Regions from separate parts of the Homo sapiens genome. Here region 1 is linked to region 2. The links are contacts of gene promoters, found by promoter capture Hi-C in blood cells and fetal thymus (Javierre and others, 2016). All regions are on one chromosome and are shown on one strand. Each heading gives the region's core, a stretch centred on a gene start or on the middle of the fragment in contact. The rest is flanking DNA. Distances are from core to core; before and after follow the strand shown.

Evidence for each region. The method cuts DNA at HindIII sites, captures the fragments that hold promoters and counts their contacts. A CHiCAGO score of 5 or more calls a contact.
Region 1: a contact is called between a fragment that was not itself captured here and the fragment with the promoter of MST1R in region 2, in 1 of 17 cell types (erythroblasts). The highest score is 5.6, in erythroblasts.

What each region holds. Positions count from the first base shown.
Region 1 is chr3:49,581,795-49,584,494 of GRCh38, forward strand. The region is part of intron 1 of BSN (bassoon presynaptic cytomatrix protein); the gene reads left to right. Among named protein-coding and RNA genes, the nearest start is that of BSN, 29 kb to the left of the region's middle. The HindIII fragment of the contact is 948 bases long and covers 945-1,892 here.
Region 2 is chr3:49,902,619-49,905,318 of GRCh38, forward strand. It overlaps MST1R (macrophage stimulating 1 receptor), which reads right to left and starts at 1,255. Exons shown (of 20, transcript NM_002447.4): 1 at 1-1,255. The coding sequence starts at 991. RefSeq lists enhancers at 1-279, 280-953, 1,590-1,639, 1,628-2,300 and a silencer at 1,180-1,399. The HindIII fragment of the contact is 26,972 bases long and covers 1-2,700 here.

The DNA.
Region 1 (2,700 bases), core at 169-2,668, 320 kb before region 2:
GCCTGAAGAGAGAGCAAGACTCTGTCTCAAAAAAAAACCCAAAAAACAAAACAAAAAAAAACAAACTTTGTGTATATAGGCATCTACTGGGGGTCTTGGAACATATCCCCTGAGGATAAGTGGGGGCTACTATATTGTGAATAATGGTGTAATAAACATTGGCATTCAAGTATCTGTTCAAGTCCCTGGTTTTACTTCCTCTGGATATAAACCTAAGAGTGGAATTCCTGGATCATATGGTAATTTTATGTTAGGCTTTTCGAGGCGCTGCCAAAAATTTTTCTGTAGCAGCTGTACCGTTTTACATTTCCACCATCATTGTATGAGGGTTCCAATTTTTCCACGTCCTTGTCAACACTTGTTATTTTCTGTTTATTTTGTTTGTTTTTAGTAATAGCCTAAAGAGTGTGAAGTGGTATCTTATTGTAGTTTTGATTTGCATTTTTCTAATCAATGGCTTATTGGCCATTTGTAAATCTTTAGAGAAATGTCTGTTCAAGTCCTTTGCCTATTTTTGTTTTCAAGACAGGGTCTTGCTGTGTTGCCCAGGCTGGAGTTCAGTGGCTATTTACATTTGCAGTCATAACACACTACAGGCTCAAATTTCTGGGCTCAAGCAACCCTCTTGCTTCAGCCTACTGAGGAACTGGAACTACAGGCCCAGCTGAAATGAACTGCCTTTTGTGTGTTGATTTTATATCCTTCAGTTTTGCTGAAGTTGTTTATTAGTTCTAACTTTTTTGTGGCCTGTTTAGGGTTATCTACATGTAAGATCATGTGGTCTGCAGGTAGAGATAATTTTACTTCTTCTTTTCCAATTTGGATGTCCTTTATTTATTTTTTTTCTTGCCCAATAGCTCTGACTAGGACTTCCAGTACTATGTTAGATAGAAATGGTAAAACTTCCTTGCACATCGTTGTCTTGTTTCTGATTGTAAAGGGAAAGCTTCTAATTTTTCACTATTGAGTATTATGTTAGCTGTGAACTTTTCATAAATAGTCCTTATCATATTGAGAAAGTTCCCTTCTATTTCTAGCTTAAGTCTTTTGAATCATGAAAGTGTATTGACTTTTGTCAAATGCTTTTTCTGCATCAATTGAGGTAAACATATAGTTTCTTCCCTTCATTCCCTTCATTCTATTAATATGGTGTATTACATTTATTTATTTATTTATTTATTTATTTATTTATGAGACAGGGTCTTGCTCTGTTCCCAAGGCTGGAGTGCAGTGGTGCAATCTTGGCCCACTGCAGCCTCTGCCTCCCAGGTTCAAGAGATTCTCCTGCTTCAGCCTCCAGAGTAGCTGGGATTACAGGTGCGTGCAACTACTCCTGGCTAATTTTTGTATTTTTAGTAGAGATGGGGTTTCACTATATTGGCCAGGCTGGTCTCAAACTCCTGGCCTCAAGTGATTTGCCCACCTCGGCCTCCCAAAGTGCTGGGATTACAGGTGTGAGCCACTGTGTCTGGAACATTGATTGATTTTTGGATGTTCAGTCAACCTTGCATTCCAGAAATAAAGCCCAATAGAAGGATGTACAATACTTCTAATATGCTGCTGAATTCAGTGTGCTAGTATTTTCTTAAGGATGTTTGCATCTCTTTTCATAAGGAAAATTGATCTGTAGTTTTCTTGTAGTATCTTTGTTGATATTAATTTATTTTTGGCTGGGCACAGTGGCTCATGCCTCTAATCCCAGCACTGTGGGAGGCTGAGGTGGGAGGATCACTTGAACTCAGGAGTTCGAGGCTGCAGTGAGCTATGATTGTGTCACTGCATTCCAGCCTGGATGACAGAGCAAGACCCTGTCTGTTATAAAATAAAATTTTTAAAAAATAAATTCTTTTTCAATGGTTAGTAGGATTCACCAGTGAAGACAACTGAGCATAAGCTTTTCTTTGTGGGAAGTTTTAAAATTACTTATTCAGTTTATTTATGTGTTATAGGTCTATTCCGATTTTTCATTTCTTCCTGAGTCAGTTTTGATAGTTTGCATCTTGGAATTTGTCAATTTCATCTAAATTACCTAAGGATGTGTGGTTGTTCATAGTATTCTCTTGCAATCCGATTTATTTATTTATTTATTTATTTATCAAGATGGAGTCTCGCACTGTCGCCCAGGCTGGAGTGCAGTGGCGCGATCTCGGCTCACTGCAAGCTCTGCCTCCCGAGTTCACTCCATTCTCCTGCCTCAGCCTTCTGAGTAGCTGGGACTACAGGTGCCCACCACCATGCCCAGCTAATTTTTATTTTTATTTTTTTTATTTTTAGTAGAGACGGGGTTTCACCGTGTTAGCCAGGAGGGTCTCGATCTCCTGACCTCGTGATCCACCCACCTCGGCTTCCCAAAGTGCTGGGATTACAGACGTGAGCCACCACGCCCGGCCAATCCTTTTAATTTATTTAAGATTGGTAGTAACATCCTTTCTTTTATTTCTGATTTTAGTCATTTGAATCTTTTTTTCTTTGTTAAAAGAAGGCTTATTGATTTTTTTTTTATCTTTTGAAAGAACCATCTTTTGGTTTTATTGTCTTTCTCTATTTTCTATTCTGTATTTCACCTCTAATCTTTATTATTTTCTTCATTATATTTACATTGTGTTTAGTTTGCTCTTCTTTTTCTAAGTATTAAGTCGGAAGTTTAGGTTATTGGTTTGAGGTCTTTTCTCTTTTTTGTTTTATTTTCTATTTTTCATT
Region 2 (2,700 bases), core at 5-2,504:
CACCCACTGGAGCGGAGTGGGCCACCCGCAGCACAGGGTAGGGCTGTCCGCCTTCTGGGGCCCCCCGGCGCCTGCGTTTTGGAGCAAATCTGCAGTCGAGGACCAGCTCCCGATAGTCACCCAACTCTGGCTCAGTGGCGCTAAGCCGTGCCAGGCGTGTGTGCAGGGCACTAGGATCATCTGTCACGCTGGCCGGCTGTACAGTCAGGAAGTATACGAAGGCTCCCGTGTGGAAGCTGTGCACGTATTCAATACTGTAGGAGACAAGATGCTTGGGCAGCACTGACAACGCCACAAAGCCCGGTGCGAATCCCGAGGCGTCAGCCTTGAGACGCCTGATAGACACTGAGCGTGGGCTGAAGCTGGCAGCCACGGCTGCGTCCAGTGAGGATGCCACGTAGAAATAGGAGGCCTGGCCTTGCTCAACCACAGTTACACGGGTGCCCAATGGGCTGGCCACACAGTCGGGGCAGTCATCGGGCCGGTTATGGTGGGCTGAGAAGAGGCAGGCTGGCGCTGCCAGATGCACGGCTGTCCCTTGGGGCTCTAGGTCATGCAGGAAGCAGCGGCCCTGCAGGCTGGAGCCACAACTGACCAGCGCAGGCAGCGCGGGATCCAGCACCAGCACCTTTGTGTCTGTGTCACCGGGAGGGCCGTGGGGTCCTGGGCCACAGGCTGCACACGTCTGGCAGCCAGGGTCTCCAGCAGGGCCCGTGGCCAGGCTCTGGACAGACTTCAGGTCAGGCCCAAGCACATGCAGGCGATTGCGTATGGCTACAAACACAGCACTCTCATTTCTGTCGCCCTCGTAGGTCACCATGGCCTGTACCAGGCCTCCGGCGGAGAAGCTGGGCACCACGTACTTCACGTCAAAGTCGCGAGAGGCCGCGTAGGGGGTGCGCGGGCACTGCCAGTCCTCGCCCGCCGCGGGCTTGGCAGGCAACAGCAGCAGCAACAGGAAGGACTGAGGCAGCGGCGGGAGGAGCTCCATCGAGGCGAGCTGGGACCCTAGAGGATCCCTACCGGCCTGGGCCTGGACCTGGGCGTGGGCCTGGCTGGGGGCCCGACTCGAGGTCTGGACTGGGCCAAATTTAAGCAGCGGTCCCGACAGCCCCAAGATAGCGGACCCCCGCCCCAGGTTCCTGTGAAACCCAAATCCCTTCCCGGCCCTCGGGTCTGAGCACCTGACGCCTGCGGACGCACGACAGCAACGCCCCAGCCGCCTCACCTGCCGCCCCAGCCGCCGCTGTACACTGGCGCTTAGCGCTCAGCCGACCCGAGGGCGCCGGGCTGGGCGGGCGGAGTCGGGCCGTGGGGGCGGGGCCGCGAGGAAGGCTTGGCCTAGCCCAGGCCCTCCGCCCATCCGACTCTTCCGGCCCTTGGAGGCCTGGCTCCTGTACCTTCACCTGGCGTCTTGGCGCCTTTTTCTCAGCGGCCTGTGGGTGGATGTGCATGGTGTGGCCTGGAGAGAGGTGAGCCAGTCTGAGCCGTCCCATCCCATCCCCCCACTACCGACTGGTTCGCAGCGAGAAGGGGGGCAGGACACTGGGCTCTTTGCTTGCGGTGGAACTAGTTTGCACTTAGTAGCAACACCCTCAGTGGCTGGTGCCCAGAGGTGGCCTGGGGGCCCACCATGTGGAGAACAGAGACCAGGATTGTGTGGAAGACCAGAGGGGAGATGTGGGGCACTTACAAGAGATGTTATGGGGCGCCACCCTTTGTGGGAAAGGACTGTCCTTTTTTTTTTTTGAGAAGGAGTCTTGCTCTGTGGCCCAAGCTGGATTGCAGTGGCGCGATCTCGGCTCACTGCAAACTCCGCCTCCCAGGTTCAAGCGATTCTCCAGCCTCAACCTCCTCCTGTCTCAACCTCCTGAATAGCTGGGATTACAGGCGCGCACCACCACACCCGGCTAATTTTGTATTTTTAGTAGAGACAGGATTCACAGTGTTGGCCAGGCTGGTCTCAAACTCCTGACCTCAGGTGATCCGCCCGCCTCAGCCTCCCAAACTGTTGGGATTACAGGCGTAAGCCACCGCGCCCGGCCGGGACCATTCTTCCATGTGCTTCTCCTGAGCTATCAGCGACAAGATGGTGTCAGAGGAAGGTGTGTTATGCCCTGCTCTCCCAGGGCCATAAGGGTCTTAGGATGGGATCTGGCCTTGCTGACTGGACCTCAGAGTCAGAGAGGCACGTAAGTGGAGGCCCATACCTCCTCTGCAGCCTCAGTATATGGAAGCTGTATAATGGGGTCCACAGTATGGGCCTTGGGGACTCCCCCTTCCTTCCTGGCTCTACCCAGTGCCCCCCTGATATGGAGGAATCATGGGCTTTGGCTCTCAGGACACTTCCAACATGCTCTGTAGGCCTTGCTGGATCTTATTCTCTTCAATGAGAATGTAGTTCTGGGCTGGGCACCGTGGCTCATGCCTGTAATCCTAGCACTCCTTTGAGGGGCCAAGGCAGGAGGATTGCTTGAGGTTAGGAGTTCAAGACCAGCCTGGGCAACATAACAAAACTCAACAAAACAAAAAAACTGCTAAAAATGTTTTTAAAATAAAATATGTGACCGGGCGTGGTGGCTCACGCCTGTAATCCCAGCACTTTGGGAGGCCGAGGCGGGTGGATCGCTTGAGGTCAGGAGTTCAAGACCAACATGGTGAACAGACAGATCTGGCCAACATGGTGAAACTATCTCCACT